Linked DNA regions of Homo sapiens: all the other regions are linked to region 3. The links are contacts of gene promoters, found by promoter capture Hi-C in blood cells and fetal thymus (Javierre and others, 2016). All regions are on one chromosome and are shown on one strand. Each heading gives the region's core, a stretch centred on a gene start or on the middle of the fragment in contact. The rest is flanking DNA. Distances are from core to core; before and after follow the strand shown.

Region 1 (4,726 bases), core at 1,884-4,383, 420 kb after region 3:
AAAAAACTACTGGGATCATGGTCAAAAGAACTCAGGAGCCAACTGGTAGAGGAGAGGCTCTCACTGGCCAAAAATGGGGAAAAAATTCTGAACAATAGTAAGATTAATAAGTGCCACGGACTGAAACACATACAATACATTATAAACTGAATGTTTATAATGATAAACACACACACTTTCCTCACTACACCTGTGGAGGATGCTGGGAGCAGCTTATTGTTCTAAATGCTGGTAAAGGCATTTCTCCTGCTTTTTCTATACACACTGTACTTCAGGGTAATCAAATAGTTGATGAAGGGGTGTTTTTCTTTATAGAGAATATCCTAGCTAATAAATAAAATACAAATGATAAAATCAGAATATCATCATTTTATAACCTATAATAAAATATTGACTGTAGGCAATTACCAATGTCCAGTAACACCAAAGAGACACCAGCAATTAAGGGCTTCCTAACAGAAGTATATCATACCACTCTCTGTAAAGGGTTCTTGCCAAAAAATGTATTTGTGTGTGCTGTATCTGTGTGTGAGTGAATGTGTGTATCTCAAACCTGAAATCAGATGAAAACTCTAGATTTAACTACCAATCTCCACAGTAGCAAGTTAAGTGACAACAAATTCTAGATCACAGGAAATTGCATGAGACAGATGACACGGCTTTTCAACAAATAAACTGCAAGGGAGTAAAAAGTGACACAAGACACCTAGAGTAACAGGTTTAGTCCATTTTACACTACTATAACAGAATGCCACAGACGGGGTAATTTATGATGAACAGAGCTTTATTCGGCACACAGTTCTGAAGGCTAGGAAGTCCAAGAGGATGGCACCGGTATCTGGAGAGAGCGTTCATGCTGTAGTATCGCATGGCAGAAGGCAGAAGGGCAAAAGAGGGCAAAAGTGTGCAAGAGAGCAAAAGGGGGCCGAGCTTGCTTCTATATAAAGCCCACTCTCACAACAACTAACCCATTCCCACAATAACATTAATCCATTTATGAGGGCATAGTCCTCGCAACCTCATCACCTCTTAAAGATCCCACTTGCCAAAACTGTTACATTAAGAATTAAGTTTCCAACACATGAACTTTGGGGGATACATTCAAACCATGACAACAGGGATATATGAATCAACCTAATTTCAACAAACAATTTATCAATCAATAAAAAATATATGTGGATATGTATGTATGTGTTTCTATATAATATAGACATGTGTATACATATGTTTGTGTATATACATGTCTATATATGTATGTGAACTACAGGATTTGATGATATTAAGAAATGGCTGATTTTTTAATACGATGATGACATTGTTTTAAAGAAAAAAGACTCCTTCTCTTCTGGAAAAATATACCAAAATATTCACAGGTAAATTGGTACAATATATGGGATTTACTTCAAAATTTGAAGGAGTGGTGAATGAAAAGAGAATTGAGTGACAGCGAGTTGAGATCAGTTTGAATGACAGGCATATAGGCATTTATTGTAACTATTCTCACTACTATAAAAGACAAGTTTTCTGTAAAAAAGTTTAAAAAGCATATGAACACAAATAACAAAAACCAATGTAACTAATATTAACAAGGTGGTAATAGAACACTGATATCAGACTATACATTCTAACTTAGGAGGCCATCATGATCACCTGAGGAGCTTCATGAAAATATAGTCTTTGAACCACCACTATTTTAATGAACCTCAAAGGCTGAAGGAATTGTGCATTTCCCTCAGGACAGCAGGAGTGGGGAAAAGAGGCTGAGAACCACTGTGTAAACACTTTAAGGGTATAGAATATATATTATTCACCCAGTATTTATCTTAATGTCTAACACTTAAGAAGCACTTAAGAAACATAAGGTGAATTAATTAACGATCCACAGATGTACAAATGAATAGGCAAGCTTAATAGTAGCTAACTGCCAGATGTGAAAAAAATCATTATTCATATTTGATATTTAAAAAAATTACTCAGGTTATAGAGTTTAAAGAGTATGGCTCTCTGTTTTGAGTGGAATGGGTTTCCTTCATAAAGCCACAGACTAGTCACTTCAAACAGCTACAAGTAAACACCCAGAGTAAAAATAGTTTTAAATACACAATTGGGTGGGGTGTGGCTAGAAAATATTCTGATTCTACAATCTGTTTTGGACAAGACAGTGCTTCTTATGTGACTAACAAAGCAAACAGCAGTCAGATTCCTTGTGCTGAAATAAGTACACTATTTGCAAAAAGGGTTGAATGTCCAAGGCTTATTCAATAAGGACACCACATTTTCCAAAACTAAAGGGGAGTATAGAATGACAAATACCCACATATATTTACATATCCCTAAAAGAAGACATACAACCTCCTGGTATGGATTTTTTTGTGTCTCTAATAAGTACTAACTGGAGCCAAGTCTACCATCTGACCATGGAGAACAGCAGAATACCTCAAGCACAGGAATAATCTAATTTTAAAACTGGGAGGAGCTTAGAAACCACCTAGTCCAAACTTTTCATTGTGTTGATAAAAAACAGACACCCAGAGAGGTTAAAGTGAAAGGCTCTGAAAATTGTTGCAATAGCCACAGATGAACAAATGGTATACACAGGGGCATAGCACTATGTATTAAGAGCTGAGAATTAGTCTTCTGAACGTTCACGAGTGATAACTAACAGGGTATCAGTCTCAATTATAAGCAAATAGCAGTATGTGTGTGCATGTGTATCACCATATATACACACAAAATATTAAAATATATATTTTAATAATTCCTTTCAAAACAAATTCAACCTAGCATTCAAAAGCATCCATAAAGTTACCTCACCTACTTTTTCAAAATTGTGTCCAAATGGGCCATAAGCCAAAAGGCAGGTGTTTTCTCTCACTTATCTTTTGTAGTCTCCTACAGATGTAGCAGAGTACATATTATAATTACAAAAGCTATTCCATATATAATTTCCAAATGATGAATTATAAACTTTCCTATTTTGTTATTCTAAACTGCTATAAGAAACATATTTTATATGTATCTATGAGTATTATACAGAGATATATACAACAATGTAAATTTTTTTAATATGGCAATCAACAAAATGCTTACAAGCAAGAGGAGAGAGGCAATGAGATGCCTTATCCATTTACATTTCCATAAAGGGCTATACAAGGCTTTGTTTAAAATACAGAAAATTGCTTGAAGGGGAGAGAAAGGGAAAAGAAAAAGGACAAATCTTTAGTTCATTCACTGGTCAAACTTTCAATTATTTCAATTATTGATTAGTCCTGAATCCATACTACTTTAATTCTGTGGAGGTAGAAAAATGATGTGTCTATGCCTGTGTATGGAATTGTCCTCCTCAACCAGTTCACCTGCATAGTCAATTTGATTTTGATTCAAAACGATGAAATTAAATAAGATGAAAAATTTGGACTCTCAACTTCCCACCTTTATTAGATTTTTTAGGATCCTAAAAACTGATTTTAAAGGCTTCCTAATATTGTTAAACAGAGTCTAACTACCAAAATTGACAACAATAGTGTTTACTTCCACCTTTGAGGGAAAGTGTTTCTAATTGGGATGATTCCTAACTGCAAGTTAAGCCAATAATATTTTTTTTAAGCTGAAAGCAAAGTTTGAAAATTTTTTTCTCCTGAAATAAACACAGCAATCTTATGTAAATTAACATAATATGAGATTATCAAATTAAGGGGTTTTTGCAAACTCTACTGCAACTCTAAAGTAAACCCAAATTTAAGCAAGAAAATCTGAAGTCATTTACTGAATATAGCGTAGTGTTGTGAATAAGGGATCTAAATCCTAAAAGCCTAAAAGTAATTAAGAATTGGGGTCAGCTATTTTCACAAAAATTTATGAATATTAATAGACACATTGATAACTTTATGTAATAACTCAATAATTTAGATGATGGTCTAAATCCAGTACCCCCTTCAAGGAATTTTATCCGCTTTTATGTACTACCACATATTATATAATATCAACCAATTAACATAAGAATGTGCTTTTCAAAAATAAAAAGGGGGTATCATCATTCCACCGTGAACCAGCCTGAACACTAGAGTATTAATTAATAAAATAGAATCACAGACAAAGACGGTCCTTGGTTAAAACTATTAATATATATTTAAGACAATGGGTTTATTTTTAAATAAGAAAACAAGGAAAAGGAGAGCCCAGCCCGATCTTGTGTGCCTACCCAATAGAACTTTCCACCATAATTAGTGCTTACCAACTTTGAGGGGAGGAGCTTAAGCTCAGGGTAACCTCATGTAGTAAGGGAAAAACAGTATAAATACCACTGAACAGCTCTTGAGAGGCACCTTCTGCACTGCTCATCTGGGCAGAGGAAGCTTCAGAAAGCTGCCAAGGCACCATCTCCAGGAACTCCCAGCACGCAGGTAAGCGTACGCTTACTGGTGGACTTCCATGTTAACTTGCTTGGAAAGAAACTTTAAAGATTTAAATACTTGAGTTTTCTCAAGTATTAGAAGTATTAAAGTGATTTAAAAAATGGGTTTCTACTAAAATGCACTCCAAAAGTTCTTTTTGCATCAGTCTGTGGATGATAGTCCCAATAAAACCATATTGTAAAAATTTGCCCTAATCCGAATTTCAGTGTATTTTGAAACTATTAGATATTTCAGGCTATGTCAAAGATCCTAGATTATTTAATACAGACATCCAATCCTAATTTCTGTTTCTTTTCCTTTAGGTAAATCAT
Region 2 (4,545 bases), core at 1,991-4,490, 310 kb after region 3:
TTTTTTCTCACATCAACTGTATGATTTCTGATTTTAAAAAGGTTTATTCCCCCCACTTTTTTGGTCCTCTTTGCTGTGCCACTAAGAAGAATCTTATGAGATACAATCCTATGCTGGATACAGAGGTTGTGTATACAGAAGCTTATATAATTAGAAGGGTCCTCTTTAAGAGAACAAATACAGAATTAATACAAAATTACCATAGTCCCTGCTAGGATTTGGAAGAGATAAATGAGGGGGTCTTAAAGCTTAAGCTTCATTGGCTTTATTGTAAATCAACCCTGGAGTAGGACAGGCAGAAAACAAAGGGTTTAGAAAGGAGGCAAAGATGGTTATGCCAGTCATTAAAAATACATCTCTGGCAATGTTAGTACCTTTAACTAAGATCTAATTTTCCCTAAAGATACTATATGTAAAAGTCACAGACAACAACATTAAATCTCTGCTTAGTTTATAACAAAAAACATCTTGAATCTGGTACTAGAGAATTTAAGATTTACAAATTAAAGTTTGATCATTATAACTGAAATGAAATATAATTTATTCATTCTACTACAAAAATGAGTCAAATAATGTCACAATAATAAAGTGCATTTCTGCATAACCTCAGATATTTTAAACAAAATTCTAAAACTACATTTATAGATAATTACAGCCAAATCACAGCAGCTAGCAGCTTATGTTCAATAAATATTTATGCCTATCTAGCTGCCATTTCAGCAGTCATTTAAAAATTCTTCTGCAAAATCAAATGAAAATCCCACTATTCTTTAAAGAAAGAATAGATAGGAAGCCAAAATCATGTACTAGCCTAACATTAAAAGGGTCTAAGAAGATTCAGCATATTCCTGGAGAAACACAGTAAAAAGTGATCACTTCTCATGTCTGTTTATTTACTGAAATGTCTTACTACGCAAATAATGTGAATTTGATGGCAATTGGAAATGAATAATTTACAGAAATACTTCTGAAAAGACTCACAGTTGATATGTAGATATCTACTTTGCAAGGATAACGGGAAGAGAATCTTTCTACTACTTATGAAAAATTTAAAAAAATCCATAGTATTATAACTTCTTAAATGTTGAGACTCAGTAATCTAATAGGAAGCAAAAAAAAAAAAAAAAAACCCAAATCAAGTCAAAACAAAAAATTCACTTTATACAAACATTACCTCCCCTCCCTGTTTCCAGCCCCTATACTGGAGGCTGCCTTAAGGAATAATTAATTTACAAGGGCAGCTGAGGCTGCGGGTTTTGGCAGAGCCTCCACAGCTAGGAAGCTGCAAGACTCAGAGAATTATTAATTCCTGCAGTAGAGAGCCTGTTCGGACTGTGAAAGCCGCAGAACTGAGGTGGAAGCTGTACAGTACAGAGGAACAAACTCAGGAAAGTTTCAAGCACAGTGTTTATAAACCCAAATAAACACTTTTTACATTATTTAGATAGTACACTGTACTTCTTTGTAAGGTCAATCAAAAATAGTTACCTAAATCTCTATTTTTACATAATATTTAAAAATGTAGGCTGGGTGTGGTGGCTCACACCTGTAATCCCAACACTTTGGGAGTCTGAGGCAGGCAGACTGCTTGAGTCCAGGAGTTCAAGACCAGCCTGGTCAGCATGGTGAAACCACAGTCTCTTCAAAAACTACACAAATTCACTGGGTATGGGGTTGCACACCTGTAGTCCCAGCTACTTGAGAGGCTGAGGTGGGAGGATAGCTTCAGCCCGGAGAAAGAGGTTTCAGTGAGCCGAGATCATGTCACCACACTCCCCACTGGGTGACAGAAGTAGACCCTGTCTAAAAACAAACAACCCCCACCCCAACCCAAAAAACAGTGTCCTGCAAAGAGTACAATGAGGATATTCATTTTAAAAAGTATAATTAAAAATATGTTAGAAGGGCCAGGCATGGTGGCTCACACCTGTAATCCCAGCACTTTGGGAGGCTGAGGCAGGTGGATCACGAGGTCAGGAGTTCAAGACCAGCCTGGCCAGAATGGTGAAACCCTGTGCCTACCAAAAATACAAAAAATTAGCCGGGCATGGTGGTGCGTGCCTGTAGTCCCAGCTACTCGGGAGGCTGAAGCAGGAGAATTGCTTGAACCCAGGAGGTGGCGATTGCAGACTGGACTTCAGCCTGGATGACAGAATGAGATTCCGTCTCAAAAAAAAAAAAAAAAAACAGTTATAAGATATAGAAAGATAAACGTTAGAAGATATAGAAAAAAATAAAGAAGACAAAGGGGATAGATGGTGATGATAATTTGCTTCCACAGTTTTAAAATGGGGATAATAACAATGCTTACCTCACAGAGTGGTTGTGTAAATAAATTAATACAGATAAAAATGGAGCACATGGAAAAGTGTCTGCCACAAAGTAAGTGTTTAAGAAGTCTTAGCTATAATCCCTTCAATTTACAGGTGAATAAACTGATATCTGAAAAAGTTAAGGAATCTGCCCAAAGTCACTGAAATGTTATAGTAAGAGCCAGGACAAGAATGCACTTTGCCTCCTTATTCCAAAGGATTTCAAATTGGGGCTAGAAGACAAAGTAAGATGATACTCCCAGAGAGCATTTCCGAATTTGGATTCCTGGACCTGAATGTGTCCCATGGTATTGCCACAAACAGGAAACAACTAAAGCACAGAATAAACCTTTATCTGGCATCCCTGAGGACACCCGCAAACGAACAATTCTCACTTAGGATGGAGCCTCAGCCAACCTCCTATGGCATCTTTATATAAGGCTCAAATTTAGTGCTGTTACAATCTTCCATATATATTGAAAACAGGTCAGCAATGAATGAAGAAAAGAAGGAGGGCTTTAGAATGCCCTTTGAACTGAATTTTATAGTTTATTATTTTCACAATGTCCCTCAAATTCACTGATAAAAAACTTTATTTGATAAAACAGCAAACCTGTATTACTTTCCTAAAATTCCACTGTCCCAGCTTTAATTAAAGCAATCTTAACAGTTAGGTAAAATGTATTAATTGAAAACATTTTTCTATAAAAATATATTATTAGGACAATTTTCTATACCAAAGTTCTACAAGATATACAAATTATTCCTCAAACCCTTTAACTTAATCACTAATAGATGTTTGGGTTATAAAATAACTACAAAGGAGAAAACTCATAGGAGAACAAAGCTCAAATCTTTTCTTTTAGCCTACAAACTACCAAAAAACTGACCTAATGAAGTTAAGAAACAAATGAAGGTTGGATAAAGAGATGGAGGAGCCATCAATTTAGGCAAATAAATAAAACTAAAGCTGTCTTGGAAACTGTAATTTATTCCTAAATATAGCTATGTCTTACTACAATGAAGTAAATCTTTTTATTTTCTTATTGTAAGAACATATGGACAAGACGAGTTTAAAAAACAGTAAAGTTTTTGACAGTATAATAGTTACAAAGTAGATATGGGACAATGATACAGTCAAGGCTAGACTGACAGCCTTGAATAAAGCTAAGCAAAACTTACCACAGAGAGCAGAATCTGTGAGAAGTTTTGTAGGCCAGAAGCACTAACCTCAACTCACAGAGACTGCTGCCTCCCCTAAACTCCCCAAGTGCTTGGTGTCACTACTTTATTAATGTTTAAAAATATGCATTTATGAGATTTTTTTCTGAATCAGTAATATATTTACATGTTTTTTAAGTCTTATTTTTGAACTCTATCTGGTATGCACTCACCTCTTCTCCTCTTTTATGCATATAAAAGCAAATACGAATATGAGTATATTCTTTTCCTCCATGTTTTTACACATTTGTTGAGACATAATCAACATACAATAAATGGAATATATTTAAAGCATACAATTTGATGAGTTTCAGCATATGTATATACTTGTTATGGCCTGAATTATGTTTCTCCCCAAATCATAAGTTAAAATAATAACCCCTAGTATATCAGAATGTGACTATTTAGAGATGGAGCCTTTAAAGGCTGGATTAAATTAAAATGAGACTCTCAGGGTGGACCTAATCCAATAGTCTCCTTTTAAGAAGATGAGATTAGGACACAGATAGACACAGAGGAAAGACTATGTGAAGACACAGGCAGAAAACAACCATCTACAAACCAAGAAGAGAGAGGCCTTAGAAGAAACCAATCCTGCTACAACCTGGTTTCAGACTTCACAGCCTGCAGAACTGCAAAGAAATAAAATACATCGTTCAAGCTATCTAGTTTGTGGTATTTTGTTACGGCAGCCCTAGCAAACTAATATAATACTAATAATTTTAAAACGCTTTTAAATGCTATTATTAGAATAATCTGCATGAGGCTCTGCAACTTGCTATTTTTAAACTATTTTATAGCTAGCACAGTGTAATCTACCTCCTTTTAAAATATGTGCATTTCATTCTATTTTACACATGTTCTATTATTTATTTATTAATAATAGTCCTCTATAGATAGACATGTGGGTTGTTGCCAATGTTTTTCTGTTACAAGTAAAAAGTTACAAACATGAGAGGATCTGCACAGCCTGGTGGAGTCAAACAGAATCTGAGCTAGAAATACAATTCAT
Region 3 (4,208 bases), core at 165-2,664:
CCAAATCCCTTCTTGTTGCCAACATCCAGATAACCTTGAATACATTTCTCAACCTCTCTACTTTTAGATTCTTATCCTGTAAAATGGCCATGATTACAGTACTATTTCACAGATTGTATCTGAATTAAAATGAGATGAAGAGAACGAAAACCATGTTGTAAACTGTAAATTTGATATACATATAAGTCGTTATTATTTGCTACTGAAAAACTCTCCACCCCATACCCCACAACTAAGTGAAATTAATTTTCCTGAGATCATAGTGTCATAGAACATATGCAGTGATGGAAATGCCTTAGGTATTGTAGAATTCCATTCAATTTATCCAACCACAAGAATAACCTATAGTAACTAGTTATTATATGGTGCATTTTAATGTGTTTTACGGTACGCCTCGTCTCTTTGGTTCTCACAATTATTCTGTGAGGTGAGTGATATTGTTGCCATTTTGCAAATGTGGAAACTGAGTCATAGAGCAATAAAATGGCTTGCCCAATGCCACACAGCCAGTAAATGGTAGGGCTGCAACAGCCTGAGCCTTCCAAATCCTCCTAGGTTCTTTCAACTACACCACACTTTTCGTCAAAGTATTCTTGAGTTTGTCACTTTATAGCAAGAATTTTCCAGAACAAATAGGACTAATGGACTCAAACTATAAGTAGAAGAAAATTACTTTCCTAAACTGAGTTTTCCGCTTCCATTTCTGGAAAGATTTTGATCCTACTCTGCACCCTGCAGTTGTCAAGGTGAAAGGATTTTTTTATTTGAACTTTAAGTATTTCTGCGTAAATAAAGAGAGCCTTCAATAGCTTACGTCTCAGGAGCTCTCAAAAGAAAGCTAAGGGCTTACTTTCTCTATCAGAATCATTATACATTATGATACTGTAGAGCGCCCATTTTGAACAACAGTTTTGTAAGAAAATATTGCCCATTCTATCACTCCTTAATGTTGTTGATTGCTGCTAATGAAAAGCAAAAAAGTTACCAGATATATTTGAATACTGTAATCACACAAGATAGGGATCTATGGTTTTGGGGACAGTGTGATAACCATTGGTGTAGTTGAGGGATCACGTTTTAACTCAGGATTTATTACCTACAGATTGCTGATCTTGTCTCTCTAATTCTTACAACAATCAATCCAAGACTGAATAATGCTAACATTTAGATCTATCTTGGATTGCGAAGGTTTCTGTTTCTGATTTTAAAACAATGTCTTGGCCTGAGAACAAAACACCACTCTTGAACTCCCTCGGGCTAAAGAATTTTTTGAGTTGCAGTGCTTCAGGTCTGACTTCACATTATCAGCTTTTATGGCTCTAGATTACAATTCATCCTTACAAATGAAGCAGTTATTTGATCCATGGCAAGTTACGTGGCTATAAGACAATCCTGTTGTTCATGGTTTTTTTCCCTCTTCAGCTCAGCAAAGAGCAAAAGCAGCAGAGTGCAGAAGCAGCACTCCTGTCTCAAAGCGAGGAAGAGCTTACAAAAACAAAACAAAAAGACATGGACTGATACACCTCTAAGAAACAGGCAAAAGAAGAGAAATTGAAGATCATATTCTTCATCTATCAAGCACTATGTCTCGCCCTGCACACCGAAGACCAGAATACCATAAAATAGTAAGATCTTTCTACAAAGAGATTTTTTCTACTTCAGAGAAAATGTTTTCTTGAGTGATTTCTGATTGATTTTAAAAACTGATGCTATAAGAATTTTTAGTGGAGGAAAGACAGTGTTCAGCGAAGTGAATCATAAATGACACATCTAGGAATAATTATGATTATCTCCTACATAAAGAATAATCAATTCTTTATACACACTTTAAGGTCTTCTTTTCTGACTAATTATATCAATATGAGTGTCAATTTTTTCACCTCTGACAGAAAATATGAAAATATTAGCAATTTTTTCTATTTCATACTTCAGGAAATGGGAACTTACATATATATGTATATGTATATATATGTATGTATGTATATATATATGTGTGTATATATATAGTTGATTATGTGTAAAACTGAATCGAAATAGGTCATCAAAAAAGGATTGCCTTTAAAAATGTTTCCTAGTCTTATTGTAGCTTGGTATGTAATATCATCCTTTCTATATATTCCAGGTTAAGAGTTATTTATAAACCTTATTTTTTTGCAGATTAGTTTTAAATAATATTCTTTAATACTCTCTTATAGTTTTAGTCACTCAGATACTACAGATACAAAAACTCACTGTTAACTTTAAAATTCTGTTAATTATGTCAGGAGACTGATGGGCATTTGATATAATTAAGTAATTTCAGACTTGGTGTTTAGAATTGTAGTGACTAACTAGCATACTTCAGTTTGAAATGCCTGCAGATACCTCCTCTGGCCTTCTGGGATCTTGATTTATTTTCCTGTGGGACTCTCAAGTGCTAAAAATATATGGTACATAGTTCATATTATACCGAAATCACTTGATTTTATAAAGCAGTTAAAATGTATTTTTATCCTGATACATTCATAACCTACTGAAATAGTTAATGATGTTCTTTCAGATATTCATATGATTATTTTTATTGTTTTAAAAACGATAAAGATAAACTTATGTTGACCTTTCCTGGCATCTGTGGTATGGATTTGAGACCCAATTGAACAGATAGTTCAAGGTACAGTCCTTGGCCATGAAGCAGAATAGAGAAAGCTGGCCTTTATGGGTACTGAACCAGAAACTCAGCTGGAAATAAAATAGATTTCAATATATAATAGTGCCCACCCATCAGGGACAGAGAAGAAATTCCACTATTTCAGTTTGGCCTTAATTATAAAGGGACACAATGTTGGGGCCATGGCATGTAGGTAGGGTATGATTTTTTCTACTTTTCTCTTTTTCAAATTCTTTTGTTTTACTGCTAGTCACAACAATCTCATCATTCTCTCTCTCTCTCTCTCTCTCTCTCTCTCTTCTTCACCTTTGCTTATCTTTATGCTGTAGCATTAGTACATGGCAGCACTTTGTCTTCTGCTGTGGCTCTTATATGTTGAGCAGACTTTTCATTGATAATTTACCAGCATTTCTTGTGATTTATTATTAGGTTCTTGGAAAAACCCTAAGCCAAACCTAAATTGTCTTAAGTTTTAGTTTTCATTTATAATTTACTCTAAAAATGGGACATATTTTGGAGAACTATAAGGAAATATCACATTCCCCTTTTTTCTCTAAGTAAAAAGAAAAGAAACTCACAAATTTGCTGCTACATTTGGGTTTATCCTGAAGGTCTCCTTGGCAGATCTGGGGGCCATTAGGGATTGTGCAGACGCCTGAGAAGTCTTATCCAATTCTTGCTTCCAACTGAAAACATGGATGGCATATATTTTAGAAAAACAGAAATTTATGTTAGAAATTAGTATTTTTAAAAAACTGTCCTCCATGAAAATACATTGCAAGTTATCATGTAAGCAAATGCATAGAAAGATGTTATCATGTTACGAAATTCATTTTATTTAACAGCTCTCTCTCCCCCACCTCACATCAATGTATCCAAATGTGAATATAATTTGTTTTCAAAAGTGCAAATTGTTGCAATAATAGGAGGAAGGAAAAAATGTACAGGTGACTTCTAAGGCTACTTCAAACCAGATTTTATAAACAAAAGAAATACAGTAGTATACTGTCATAACTTGCCTATAACCAGAAACTACCCCTTTTTCTCCAGAATAAAGATCTCTTTGTCCTTACCTATGGAGCTCTGGTTGCCCAGCTGTGTAAGGATTATGAGAAGGATGAAGATGTGAACCAATATTTAGATAAAATGTAAGTGGAAGTCCTTCATTCTTATTGAATGGCTGTTGTTTCTTACATCACCTGCATTCTTTCTGCCTCTAATGACTTCCTTTGCTTCATTTCACCAGCTGTTCTTCTGTCTCAATTAATCACATCTGAAAGCTGAACATAATTTCTTACAAGTGCCATTTGGGTTGATAGAATAAGATAATAGGAAGGATTTTTTTCCTACAAATATCAAGTGTGGGATGTTTTCTCTTTAGTTAGAAATCATTTCTTAAGTGACTTAAGAGTCGCTTATAAGCAAAAGATGTGGTAAAATTGAAATTATTCTATTAACAACATGAGGGAACATCAAATTTTATTCTTTTCAGAAGTCTTTTGTTCTAACACAACTGCTTCCAATATAAATATATGCTTACACAACCACAGACCATCTATTG
Region 4 (4,162 bases), core at 576-3,075, 440 kb after region 3:
AATATCTGTAATTGTGAAGTTCTGCAGTATAATTCTCCTTCACAAGCAATTTATCATCCCCTGCATGCCCCAGGTAGCTGTCCCATTCAAAATTATACCGTCAGCATACAATTATACAACCAAAGACAATTATTAACCCTACTCCTGAATTCTAATGGGTTGGAGATCATAATTTAAGACTTGACAAAGCTTTTTAAACTTATTTAATACATCACTAAGATGATAAAGATGATGACCACTCTATCCATCCATCCTTGGTCCATTCTGGCCAGAAAGGCCCCATGTCAGGGAAATACATATGGGGACCAGGAAGGTGATCTAAACAAGTCATGATGCCTCTATCAGATACAGGTAATCACTCTTGTTTCTCCACACACACATACACAAAAACCATTAAAAAAAAAAAATCTAAAGACAAAGGACAAAGAAAGCCTCTGGAAGCAAGTACAATAATTACAATAATAAATACTCTGTTGATTGCTGACAGATCTTATTTCTCAACAACAAAAAATGCTAGGTTTTTGAGTAAAATATCTGGTTTTTAAGTGCTGGCTAACTTTAAAAGAACTGTACATACCAAACAAAAAGTGCACAAAAGGTAGATGGTCCAACCTTATTCTACCTCGAAGTGTTCTTTGGCCAGTGTTGGGTAAACTTGAGCCTGAGCAGAACAGTTGTCTGAGTCAACCTGCACAGTGTCCAAAAGGACACACTGAACAATCTGACCCTTCTTCTACAGATATTAACCCACAACAGGTTTCGATAACATGTCATACTTTTAGGGAGAAGAGGGAGGCAGAGGAGCAGGGGAAATCTCTCCTGGGTAGTGAGGTTTACACTGATACTTAGATGCAGCAGTTCGCTGGGTGAATGCAGAGGGAATGGGGGGCAACTCAGGTTCAGAAACTGAGGGGCCTGCACACAGCTGGAGTAGGGGTGTCGGGGTCTGAGTGTCAGGATATGAGCATGGAGAAAGCAAAGGCTCCTTGTGAAATGTCAAATCGAGTTGCTCCCTGTCATAAAGCTAATTAAAATCACTACACATGTACTTCCATCCAGTGCAATGTGACCTTATCCAGGTCAACTGTTAATTGAACCACATTATGTTAACACTATATATCAACAGTTCTTAACCCTGGTGGTGATTCAGAACCATAGGTGACACTTCTTAAAACTACCCAGAGCTTCCAAGCATACAGGGTAGAGAGGGCCCTCTCTGAAGCACAGAGAACACTGAAAATCACTGACCTGCATGTTTTACAGATTTTTATTCAATCATTAAAAGGAAAAAAGCAACAAAAAATACACTGAGTCACCCTGTGGTACAAAGTACTATGGACAATAAAAAGTCCACATCACGATCCTGCTTATAAGAAACCAGTGCTGCAGGGCTAACAGATGTAAAATGCTTAGAGCAGAGCCTGGCACACCAGCAAATCCAATTTAAGTATTTGCTATTATTATGTTGTATGCTGCTAAAAACAAAACAAAACAAAACAAAAAAACAGAAAACAAAAACACTGCCCTGACAGGTAGCGCTTGCCCATCTCCACGGTGTAAATATTCCCACCATGGCCTGTTTCAAGTCACCAACAGCAGTTTACCTGCTTGCACAATTCCTGAATAGTTAACAATTGGCTTTCACAAGCCCCTAAGAGCCAGCTATTGTACACCTTAGATTTGCCTCTCATTGAGGCACTTTTGAGTTTCTCCAGTTATTCAAGTGATTAGTCTAAGATATGGGCATGTAATTCTAAAACACTTGAATTCTCCTGGAAGAAAGGAGCCCTTTCCATCAGAGACGCCAACAGGGACAGCAACAGCTGTGTTCCTTACCTTGTGGAGGAGATTTTTCTGTAACAGGAGAGAAGGGGGCCAATGGACAAGGAAAAGAAGCAGAGAAAAGCAGTGTGAAGAAAAGCAGGGGCATCTGTACTCTGAAACCCCTGGTCTAGGCAGAAGGCTTCTTGCAGTTTGTCCTTAGAGTACGCTGAGTCTCTCTAGAAGCCTTCATGGCACAGGGCTCTCCATGACATTCCTCCCCCAGCCTTAGCTATCACCACCTCACAGTCTCTCAGGAGTAATAATAATACACGTTCTACTGCAGTTGCCAATTGGTACCCTGTGGTCCATATGCAGCCTACAAATTATGTTTGGTTCCCACTTAAGGTTGCCAGATAAAATTTAAAAATGCCTAGGTAAATGTGACTTTCAAATAAAAAACAAATAATTTTTTTTTAGTATAAGCATGCAATATTTGGGACCCCACTCTCCCACTCACACATCTACGTTAACTGACTGGTATCAGACTTCTGAGTCTGCAACCTTAGAGAGGAGAAACCATGTGTCATCCTCTCTTCTAGAATGCCTTTCCTGAGGCCTCATGTGAGGGGGACACACTCAGTTCTGTGTTTGCACAACTCTGTGCAGTTGTTAAATGCCTACAAAACTGAAAGGAGACGCACTCACAGCTCTCCATGATGCAGCCCCCACTGACTTCTCCACCATCTTCTCCTGCAACTTGCCACCTTTTGCTTGCACCCAGCAGTTCCCGGTGCTGTTGCTCACCTCGAGGTTCTGACCTTTACTCTAACTCCTCTGGGTGAAGCACTCCTCTCCACCTCCTCACCTGCCAGCTCCCGGCCTTTCCTCTGTGTTTTCGGGCACCATACAGACAGCAAGGTGGGAAGAAGCAGAAATCCACAGCCGGACTACCTCGCTTAGTTGCCCTGGATACACTTTCCTTCTGTGCCCCGTTGCTTGATGCTCTCTTAACAGTGACTAAATCACTGTTAAGTGATTAAACAGTGGTGATAATATCTACCTCACAGGGACGTTGTAAGGATTAAATCCATTCATATAAGCAGCATGCTTATTAGAATCATGGCTGTATCATATTCTGTTATTAAAATACCTATTATCTATTCAGTCTATTTATTGAGTCCAGTATGTGCCCAGCACTAAGCTCGGCACACAGAACACACAAGAAACTGTCACAGATACTGATGGAGTCATCACGCTGGGCTCTAGGGGAAGTCCAACAAGTAAACAGGAAGTGTTAATATCATGCAGCATGTGCTATGAGGAATGAAGGGTTTTGTGGAAAACTGAAGGTGGGCTTAGAATGGAAGGGCAAACTTTAAGGGCCAAAAAGACTTCCTAAGGGGAACGATGTTTAAGATGAGGCCTGATGGGATGAAGAGCTTCTGTGCAGAGCAAAGAGGCCCTCCAGGCACTGTTGGCAGCGTGAAGCAAGACCCAGGTCATACTACCCACCACAAGGGACCAAGACTAACTCTTCAGCATTTTTGCCTACTGTGTAAGGCTGCCTGGAGGCCTGCGTGTTGATCTCTGTATCCTCAGCTCTAGCATGGTGCTCAGCACACTGTGGGACTTAAAATAAAAAAGATTTCCACACCAAACATGATCCAAAACTCAATAGGTTACTGTTTTCAAGCTTTAAACATCACTTATTCTCCAGGTTTGCAGTAAAAAAACCTCTTGTCTTTGAGAATCTTATATTCTGAAATTTTATGATCACCTATGGACAACACTAGCTCTAACATGACAGTGGTTTAACAATATTACCTCCAAATGAAGGTAACTAAAGAGGAGACACACAAAACTGTGAACCAGGAAGGATTCGAAAGACACAGAGGGAAGGAAAACATGTATCAAAGACCTAGGGGAAGCAGTGGCCAAAGAATCAAGCAGTAAAAAAGCCTTCTTAATTCTCAATGTGACTAAGGAAACCAGACCTGTAAGGTAAGAAAGCAGGAAAGTGTAACAGCAGAAAAAGGACATTTAAAAAAAAATTTAGCATCTGGGCATAGAAAACACACGAGAAATTCGGGCAGCCACTCTTTTTTGACCTTTAACGTGTACCTGAACTGGTGGGTGCAGGAACTGGCGGGTGCCCATAATGGGGCACAACCCTGGCTGATGTCTGCACCAGTGATCTAGAGTTCTACCCATAAACTGTGAGGTTTCCAAATAGTTTGGGTGGTAACCATAAAAGCAAACACTTGTCTTTGCCAAGGTACTATTCTAAGCATTATACATCTCTTACTCATTTAATCCTTGCAACAATCTTGTGAGGTAAATCCAATTATTAGCTCCATTTTACAGATGGGGAAACTGAGAAGCAGCACAGGTTAAGTAA
Region 5 (4,887 bases), core at 321-2,820, 380 kb after region 3:
CCTACCATATAGTCTTTCATACAGAACTTACGGCACCTATCATGATATTCTGGCTAATCACTATGCTTACTGAACTTACAGAAGTGGCAATATAGTAAGCATAGACACAAAATATTGTAACAGTCATAAACTGGAAACTATAACATGTTTTCATTTTTTAAATGTTGTGGAAATTGGTCTCTTGCTTCTGACAGTGGAGAACTATGCCATTTGAACAAATTGTCTAACTGAGGATAACTAGAAAAGTTAAACAAACTTTAAAAAATACCTGCTTAACAGCACTGAAGAACCAAAATGTCAATGAAGATTTAAGAGGTCAAGTTGAGAAGCTGAGGAAAAGAGAAACCCAGAAAGCTGAGCTTGGAATCTGGGGCTTCTGCCTGGAATTAGCAGTAACACCAACTTCAAGAAAAGTAAAGGAGAGCCTAAGAAGTCGCAATCTTCAAGAGGCTTGGAGGACAAAAAATGGAGGCCAGTGCCTGCCAAGGTTAGGTAGAGGCTAATAAACTCTCCAGGGTTTATTAGAAGTTAATGAGCTCTCCAGGTTGACCCAAAAGGCTATACTACAGAAAGAAGTACGAACCAGATATAATACAGCTCTCAATGGCCTGAAGCACAACTTCACATCACCTCAATCTCTAAAAATTGATGACAGGTGATCCAGGAGTGCTAGAGCCCTAGCTGCCTGCCAGAAGCAAACATAAGTTCTCCCTGTAGAAAGTTATCCTAGACCTCAACATTTTTCTCTGTAGAAAAGTACTCTCTGTAGAAAGTAATCCAGACCTCAACATTTTTCTATAAAATTAAAAAAAACAATAGCTAGTATCAATAAAAAATTATCAGATACTCAAGGAGACAATATAATATAAAAACAAAACAAACAATCAAAAAAAGGGGGAAAATACACGACAGAACCAGATCCACAGCAGCTCCTATGGCATGAAGACAGACTGAACCAGATCCACAGAAGCTCCTATGGTATAAAGACAGACTTGAAAACTATAAATAATAAATTCAGGAAGCTCTAAAATAAAATCAAGATTTTGTCAGAGAATTGAAAAATAGAAAAAGAACTAAATGGAATTCTAGAACTGAAAAATACAGTAATCAAAATTAAAAGCTCAATGGATAGGTTTATAAGCAGATTAGACGCAACTGAAGAGAGAATTAGAAAAATGGTTAGAAATGAGATTAAAAGAAAACAGAACAAAAGGCAGACAAGAAAAGAGAGAAGGTGAAAGATCATAAATGATAGTAAAAATATCTTCTAAAATATGAATAACTGAAATCCCAGAAAGAGAGAAAAGAGAAAAGGAGCAGAACAATATTTTTAGAGATAATGGCTCAGAATTTTCCAAAACAAACCAATGGTGTTAAGTGAATATCTGAGAAGCCCTCCAAGGAGAATTTAAAAAAAAAAAAAAAAAAAGACACCAGGTACATCATAAATCGAAGATGAAAAACCAAAGACAAAGAGAAATTAGTAATCTCAGCAAAACAGATTATCCTTTAAAGAACAATTATACTGATAACTGAATTTTCAACATAAACAATAGAAACTAGACTATAGTGCAGAAAATAACCATTAACCTAGACCTCCATTAAAAATATTCTCTAAGAATGAAAGTGAAATAAAAAAATTTTCAGAAAATCAACATCCAATACACAGATATGATTGTTTAGCTCTAATGTTACACTTCATTTGAGCTAAACAATCATATCTATTCATAACAACTTGAGGGCTATGCAACGTAATTATCCAACAACGGTCATGGGCATTGACTTTTCTAGGAAAGCTCTACTTCCCAAGTCACTGAGCCGAAACATTGCCTATGAACAATTCAAACAAATTAAAAACTAACGAAGGGTAGAAGGGTAAGAAAAGAAGGAAGTAAAAAATGCCTGTCAATTTATAAAATATTGCAATTTTATCAAATGAAATCAGTACAAATAACTGGTATCAAAATGATGCATATTTTTTGCCTTAGAAAGTTCTATGTGGGCTGGGCACGGTGGCTCACACCTGTAATCCTAGCACTTTGGGAGGCCAAGGCAAGTGGATCACAAGGCCAGGAGATTGAGACCATCCTGGCTAACACGGTGAAACACTGTATCTACTAAAAATACAAAAAATTAGCCGGCAGTGGTGGCGCATGCCTGTAGTCCCAATTACTTGGGAGGCTGAGGCAGGAGAATCGCTGGAACCTGGGAGGCGGAAGTTGCAGTGAGCTGAGATTGTGCCACTGCACTCCAGCCTGGCGACAGAACAAGATTCTGTCTCAAAAAAAAAAAAAAAAAAAAAAAAATCTTCTATTTGAACTAATTTTACAAACACCTTTTAAGTACAAAGTATGTCACTTTTATATCTGATGCATTTGGTTGAACATATACAAATCATCAGTGATAAAAGATAATTCTACGGATATCACATGCTCTGAATAGTTTTAAGTGTGATTTAATTTTCTTGGGGGCAAAAATTTATAAACCATCTTTATAAGTCCTATAGTAGGCCTAATATGCAACTCTGTACAGAGTAGGCTCCCCAAAACAATTAATAAAGACAAGAAAGGAAGGCAAGATACTTCCTTGGCTCAATTCTTTGGCTCAATTCTGAATAACAAAAAATTATTCTCATTTCAAGGTCAGATTCCAGACATTTCAGAATTTCAGTCCTTTCGTCTTTAAATAGAAACCACTGTGATGAAGTTTACATCAGGGAACCATTTTTATCTCTTACATAATTTAAGTAACTACTAGATAAAAGATGAAAAGTCTCTGAAACTTTAGTAGAAATTTCTCATGGATTTAGATAAATAACTGAATTAACTTTTGAAATACACTACTGACTTGGTTTTAAGAGTGTTTTTTATCAGCATGTAGAAAAGGATGTCAGCAGTGAAAACCTCAAGGGAAATATCTGGGAAACTGGGTAAATGGAGATCGATGCCAGGAGTTTCTCACTCTCTGATGGCCCAACACTCAGCCTCTAGCAATTCATCACAATTACTAGTCAAATATCCACTATTCCCAATACCATTTACAGAAGACAAAATCCTTCTTCCATTGTGATTTCTTAGCACCTTTGTTGAAGATTGGTTGATCCATTCCTTTATGTTTTTAATTAGAACTGAATATCCAACCACCATGTATCAAAATTGTTGGTTAGGAGGAATCTGGATGGCTGACTAGGGATTTTGGATGTCAGTTATCCTCAGAGAGAAGATCAAAGACATAGATGAATGGTCATGATCTGAATGGAAAGCTTAGGGAAGATAGCCAGGATCTGTTGGAGACCCCACTGGTTGATGTGGGGTTGCAGAAAAGGAAAGCAGCAAGAGTCTCGCAGAGATTGACTCCCGAGAACCTCTGAATCCCGCCTGAAGGGTAGGTTGGGGTGCTTCTCTTCTCCCTTCACCCCTGCAATAAGCTGCTGACTGCCAAATTGTCAGGGAGCCTTTCTACCTTCATGACCCCAGGCAATGCTGTCAGTGCGGATTTAGGATCTTCCTGGGGACAGAGCACAGAGTGGCTAGTTTGTGCAGGTATCCCCTCACTCCCCTCAAGCCTGAGCTGAGAGGACAGACACCATACTGGTTGTGCATTCATTGTGGGCTACTACCCTGCATGGGGAATCTCAGCCCAAGTTGTTGCAATCACCAGTACCCTGCAAACATAGCCCAGAACCTGCTCTGACTTGACAACCACAGGGGACCAGCAGGTCCCTGGGGAGCTGTGGGATTTCCAGACATTCAGCCCTAAGCACAGGCTGCCCCTAGAAGAGGGGGAAGTGCGGCCCACTAAGAACCCCCTTGGGACAAAGGAAATGCAGGTACAAACTGATCACTGAATGGGGTGGTACTGGTGGTTGGTAACAGATGTAGAGGGGGGTCATCTCCTGCTCCCTCAGTCCACTGTTGTGGATGTAGGAGAGGCATTTTTCGAATTAACCCAGTCAGACAAAAATAGAAAAGAGAATTTTAAAAAATGAACAAATCCTTTTAAAAATACAGGACTATGTGAAGTCACCAAATCTATAATTTATAGGTATTCCTGAGAAAGAAGAAGAAAAAGTAAGCAATTTGGAAAACATATTGGTAGAAAGAATTCAGGAAAATTTCCCTGATCTTGTTAGAGATATAGAAATCCATGTGGAAGAAATCCAGAACACCAGTGAGATATGATATAAGGTGAACATCACCAAGGTATATAGTTATCAGACTATCCAAGGTCAATGCTAAAGAAAAAATCTTAAACGCCACTAGAAAAAAGGATCAAATCACCTATAAAGGAAATCCTATCAGACTAACAGCAGATTTCTTAGCAGAAACTGACAAGCCAGAAGAGACAGGGATCTAGTTTTAGACTTCTTAAAGAAAAATAATGCCAGCCAATAATTTTTTTTTTTTTTTTTTTTCTGAGACGGAGTCTCGCTCTGTCGCCTAGACTGAAGCGCAGTGGTGCAATCTCAGCTCACTGCAAGCTCCGCCTCCCAGGTTCACGCCATTCTCCTGCCCCAGCCTCCCGAGTAGCTGGGACCACAGGCACCCACCACCATGTCCGCTAATTTTTTGTATTTTATTTATTTATTTTTTTAGTAGAGACGGGGTTTCACCATGTTAGCCAGGATGGTCTCGATCTCCTGACCTTATGATCTGCCTGCCTCGGCCTCCCAAAGCGTGTATCTTTTTAAACTAAGCTTCATAAATGAAGCAGAAATAAAGTATTTCCCAAACAAACAAATGCTAAGGAAATTTGTCACCACTAGACCAGTACACCAAAAATGCTAAAAGGAAACAGAAAGATGATACTTGCTACCACAAAAGCACACGTAAGTACAAAGTTCACACATCCTATAAAATAATTACATAATTGAGGCTACAAAGCAAC
Region 6 (4,849 bases), core at 771-3,270, 360 kb after region 3:
GCCCTCAAAATGAGGGAAAAAATATACACATGCACAATCAATTACACAATTCTAAAGGTTTACAAGAGAAAAAAGTACCAGTTAATAAATAGAAGTAAAACTTTTATTACAATTTGTACCTAAAATAAATTTCTCAAGAGTGGTCAACTAAAAAAAAGAACAAAATTCAAGTAGGAAAGGTATTACTACTAAACATCTCATTTCAACTTGATTAAAATAATTATTAAAAAATCAATTGCAATGAGAAAACTGATAATGACTTTAACTGTGAATATACAAGGATACAACTTCTAGAATTTATAAAATCTGTTTTAAATACAGTGAAGTTCTAATGTGGGGCCAATGATAATGTTTTATTTATCCATTCCAATTATAAATTAAACTCCACTCTGCAAAATGGTAGTGAAGCTTAATTATAAATAAACAGATCCAAATTAAAAAACAGAGTATCAGCTATGAAATAGGCCTTCTCTCCTTAAATCAGAAGTTATACATAATCTTAAAAATTATAAAACATACACACACATAGAAAAGACAAAAAACATAAATCTGTGCTTTGGTTGAAATGTTATAAACATTCATGTAATTGCTAATCAGGTAAAAAAAAAAAAAGTAGAAAATTTCCAGGATACCAGAAGTCCTCTGATACCACCCTTGAAAGGTAATTGCTATCCTCATATCTATGGTACATCCTTACTTTTCTGGCTTTACTACCTAATTATGCTCTAGTGTAACCCATTTTAATATCTATTTTATAAATGCAACCATAGAATATGTATATCCTGTATTACTGGCTTTTTCTCTCTCATTTTCTGTTTTTAAGATTCATTCATGTTGTTCATAAAGCTTCATTTTCATTGATGAATAGAATGTCACTGTATGACACACTGCATAGCAACTGCACTATTGAGGGATATTTGGGCTGTCTCTAATTTGGTGTAATAGTGAATGCCACTAAGAACATTCTGGATGGTATATATTGCAGCCTAATATGGCTGTGTCATAGGGAATGCTCACTTTCAACTTTATAGGATAATACTCAACAATTTTCAAAACCAACTCAACAATTTACACTCCCACCAGCAGTTTAAGGGTTCTCTTTGCTTCACATCCTCACCAACCACTGAAATCACTAGATTCTTTAATTCCAACTATTCTGATGGATATCTAGTGGTACCTCATTGAACTTTAATTAGCACTCTCATGACTGTTAATAAGCATAAGCACATTTTCATGTTTATTGGCCATTTAGAGTTCCCTATTTGTAAACTGCCTGTCAAGACTTTTGTTCATTTTCTACTGGGTTGCTGTCTTCCTGTTACTGATTTATAGGTCTTTTTTACACTAGATAAAAGTCTTTTTATCATTATATGTATTCCAAATATCTTCTCTTCTATAACTTGCCCTTTCGTTCTTAGTAATTTTTTATGAAGAGAGACGTTTAATGTTTGTCAAATTTATTCACTTTTCCTTTACAATCAATCAATACTGTTTCTATCCTATTTAAGAAATATTTCATTATCTTTAAGCTATGAAGCTATTTTTCTCAGATTTTCTTCTGATAGCTTTACTGATTTGCCTTTCATATTTGTTTCTATAATCCATGTGAAATTGATTTTTGTCTAATATGTGAGTAGGGATCAAGTTTTATGAATTTCTACATAGATTTCCAACTCTCCAGGCACCCTTTATGACAGTCCTTTCCCCACTGCTCTGCTGTACCTGTTCTGTCATCAAGCATGTGTCTACAACTGCAAAGGTCTTTTCTGGCATCTCCGGTTCAGTGATCTTCTAGTTGTCAGTCTTTATACCAAAAGCACTCTGACCAAATTACTGTAACTTTAAAATAAGCCATGAATTATTTGCTAGTGTCTTGTAGGACAGACCCTCTTGCCCTGTTCTTCATGAGTGTCTTGGCTCTTCATGGCCCTTTTCATTTCCATATAAATTGTGGCATGAGCTTCAGTTTTCTATAAAGAAACTTGTTAAAATTTTGGTTGGACTTAACAAAAATACAACTAATGACCCTCACAGAGTCCACTTCGCTCCCCTGCTACCTTTCCTGGAGCAGGTGCTGGTAGCCACAGCTAAGAGACCTGAATACAGATCACATCACAGGACTCTGTGCAGACACTTCCCAGTACCAGATCAAAGCCCAGTAGCTCTGCTGGGTGGCTAGATTCAGAGGAGAAATAGCATCACTGCAGTCTGGCTCTCAGGGAGCCATTTCTAGGGGAAAGGGGAGAACACCACAACAAGGGAGCACCCTGTGGGACAAAAGAATCTGAACGGTAGCCCTTGAGTCCCGGATCTACCATCTGACATAGTTTACCCAAATGAGAAGGAACCAGAAAAACAATTCTGGTAATATGACAAACATGGTTAACACCCCCAAAAGATAACACTAGCTCACCAGCAATGGATCCAAACTAAGACTAAATCTCTGAATTGCCAGAAAAAGAATTTAGAAGATCAACTATTAAGTCAATCAAGGAGGCACAAGTCCAACTTAAAGAAATCAAAAAAATGATACAGGATACGAATGAAAAAATCTCCAGTGAAATACATGGCATAAATAAAAAAGCAATCACAATTTCTGGAAGTCAAGGACACACTTAGAGAAATGCAAAATGCACTGGAAACTCGCAGCAACAGAATCGAACAAGTAGAAGAAAAAGTCAGAGCTCGAAGACAAGGCTTTCAAATTAACTCAATCCAACAAAGACAAAGAAAAAAGAATTAAATAAAAATGAACAAAGCCTCCAATAAGTTTGGGATTATGTTAAATGACCAAACCTAAGAACAACTGGTGTTCCTGAGGAAGAAGAGAAATCTAAAAGTCTGGGAAACATGTTTGAGGGAATAATCGAGGACAACTTCCCCAGCCTTGCTAGAGATCTAGGCATCCAAATACAAGCAGCTCTGGGAAGAACACCTGGGAAATTCATCGCAAAAAGATCACCACCTAGGCACACAGTCACCAGGTTATCTAAAGTGAAGATGAAAAAAAAAAAAAATCTTAAGAGCTATGAGACAAAAGCATCAGGTAACTTTTAAAGGAAAACCTATCAGATTAACAGCAGATTTCTCAGCAGAAACCCTACAAGCTAGACAGCATTGGGGTCCTACCTTTGTTCTCCTTAAACAAAATAATTATCATATAAGAATTTTGTATCCAGTGAAACTAAGCTTCATAAATGAAGGGAAGACACAGTCTTTTTTAGACAAACAAATGCTGCGAGAATTTGCCATTACCAAAAGAGAACTACAAGAACCACTATAAGAAGCTCTAAATCTTGAAAGAAATCCTTGAAATACACCAAAATAGAACCTCCTTAAAGCATAAATCTCACAGGATCTATAAAACAACAATACAATGAAAAAAATCCAAGGTTTTCAGGAAACAACTTGCAGGATGAATAGAATAGTATGCTACATCTCAATACTAACGTTGAATGTAAAGGGCCTAAATGCTGCACTTAAAAGATACAGAATGACAGAATGGCTAAGAATTCACCAACCAAGTATCTGCTGTCTTCCAGAGACTCACCTGACACATAAGGACTCACACAAACTAAAGGTAAAGGGGTAGAAAAAAATATTCCATGCAAATGTATACCAAAAGCAAGCAGGCGTAGCTATTCTTACATCAGACAAAACAAACTTTAAAGCAACGGCAGTTAGAAAAGACAAAGTGGGACATTATATAAGGATAAAAGGACTAGTCCAACAGAAAAACATCACAATCTTAACTATATACGCACCCAACAGTAGAGCTCCCAAATTTATAAAACAGTTACTACTAGACTTAAGAAAAATGAGATCAACAGCAACACAATAATAGTGGGGGACTTCAATACTCCACTGACAGCATTAGACAGGCCATCAAGACAGAAAGACAACAAAGAAACAATGGACTTAAACTATACCCTAGAACAAATGGACTTAACAGATATTTTCAGAACTTTCTACCCAACAACTGCAGAATAGACATTCTTTTCATCAGCACATGGAACATTCTCCAAGACAGACCATATGATAGGCCACAAAGCAAGTCTTAACAAATTTAAGAAGACTGAAATTATATCAAGTACTCTCTTAGACCATAGTGGATAAAATTGGAAATCAACTCCAAAAGGAACCCTCAAAATCATGCAAATACATGGAAATTAAATAACTTGCTCCTGAATGATCTTTGGATCAACAATGAACTCAAGATGGAAATTTAAAAATTCTTTAAACTTAATGATAATAGTGACACAACCTATCAAAACCTCCAGAATACAGCAAAGGCAGTGCTAAGAGGGAAGTTCACAGCATCAAAAAGTCTGAAAGAGCACAAATAGACAATCTAAGGTCACACTCAAGGAGCTAGAGAAATAAGAACAAACCAAACCCAAACCCAGCAGAAGAAAAGAAATAATCAAGATCAGAGCAAAGCTAAAAATTGAAACAAAAAAAATTACAAAACATAATATAACAAAAAGCTGGTTTTTTGAAAAGATAAATTAGATTGATAGACCATTAGTGAGAATAACTAAGAAGAGAGAAGAACCAAATAAGCTCAATTAGAAATGAAACAGAAGATATTACAACTGATACTACATAAATATGAAAGATCATCCAAGGCTACTATGAACACCTCTATGGGCATAAACTAGAAAACCTAGAGGAGATGGATAAATTCCTGGAAATATACAACCCTCCTAGTTTAAACCAGGAAGAAACAGACACTCTGAACAGACCAATAACAAGCAGTGAGACTGAAATGGTAATTAAAAAGTTACCAACAAAAAAAGGCCAGGATCAGACGGATTCATAGCTGAATGCTATCAGACATTCAAAGAAT

Evidence for each region. The method cuts DNA at HindIII sites, captures the fragments that hold promoters and counts their contacts. A CHiCAGO score of 5 or more calls a contact.
Region 1: a fragment that was not itself captured here is called in contact with the fragment with the promoter of TRAPPC3L in region 3 in 4 of 17 cell types (naive B cells, naive CD8 T cells, total CD4 T cells and 1 more); the score reaches 7.9 in naive B cells.
Region 2: a fragment that was not itself captured here is called in contact with the fragment with the promoter of TRAPPC3L in region 3 in 15 of 17 cell types (neutrophils, M2 macrophages, naive B cells and 12 more); the score reaches 20.5 in neutrophils.
Region 4: a contact is called between a fragment that was not itself captured here and the fragment with the promoter of TRAPPC3L in region 3, in 1 of 17 cell types (neutrophils). The highest score is 6.1, in neutrophils.
Region 5: a contact is called between a fragment that was not itself captured here and the fragment with the promoter of TRAPPC3L in region 3, in 3 of 17 cell types (naive B cells, fetal thymus and M0 macrophages). The highest score is 6.0, in naive B cells.
Region 6: a contact is called between a fragment that was not itself captured here and the fragment with the promoter of TRAPPC3L in region 3, in 11 of 17 cell types (total B cells, neutrophils, M2 macrophages and 8 more). The highest score is 13.2, in total B cells.

Annotation. Positions count from the first base shown.
Region 1 is chr6:116,125,730-116,130,455 of GRCh38, reverse strand. The region is part of intron 6 of NT5DC1 (5'-nucleotidase domain containing 1); the gene reads right to left. It overlaps COL10A1 (collagen type X alpha 1 chain), which reads left to right and starts at 4,324. Exons shown (of 3, transcript NM_000493.4): 1 at 4,324-4,403. RefSeq lists a silencer at 1,996-2,290. The HindIII fragment of the contact is 2,449 bases long and covers 1,909-4,357 here.
Region 2 is chr6:116,231,620-116,236,164 of GRCh38, reverse strand. The region is part of intron 8 of NT5DC1 (5'-nucleotidase domain containing 1); the gene reads right to left. Among named protein-coding and RNA genes, the nearest start is that of TSPYL4, 20 kb to the left of the region's middle. The HindIII fragment of the contact is 5,967 bases long and covers 257-4,545 here.
Region 3 is chr6:116,542,890-116,547,097 of GRCh38, reverse strand. It overlaps TRAPPC3L (trafficking protein particle complex subunit 3L), which reads left to right and starts at 1,414. Exons shown (of 5, transcript NM_001139444.3): 1 at 1,414-1,625; 2 at 3,698-3,795. The coding sequence starts at 1,584. It also overlaps a transcript of CALHM4 not described here. The HindIII fragment of the contact is 9,007 bases long and covers 1-4,208 here.
Region 4 is chr6:116,101,970-116,106,131 of GRCh38, reverse strand. All of the region lies in intron 1 of NT5DC1 (5'-nucleotidase domain containing 1), which reads right to left. Among named protein-coding and RNA genes, the nearest start is that of NT5DC1, 3.2 kb to the right of the region's middle. RefSeq lists an enhancer at 3,037-3,106. The HindIII fragment of the contact is 3,268 bases long and covers 192-3,459 here.
Region 5 is chr6:116,164,626-116,169,512 of GRCh38, reverse strand. All of the region lies in intron 6 of NT5DC1 (5'-nucleotidase domain containing 1), which reads right to left. It also overlaps a transcript of COL10A1 not described here. Among named protein-coding and RNA genes, the nearest start is that of COL10A1, 41 kb to the right of the region's middle. The HindIII fragment of the contact is 3,388 bases long and covers 1-3,264 here.
Region 6 is chr6:116,184,470-116,189,318 of GRCh38, reverse strand. The region is part of intron 6 of NT5DC1 (5'-nucleotidase domain containing 1); the gene reads right to left. It also overlaps a transcript of COL10A1 not described here. Among named protein-coding and RNA genes, the nearest start is that of COL10A1, 61 kb to the right of the region's middle. The HindIII fragment of the contact is 2,343 bases long and covers 849-3,191 here.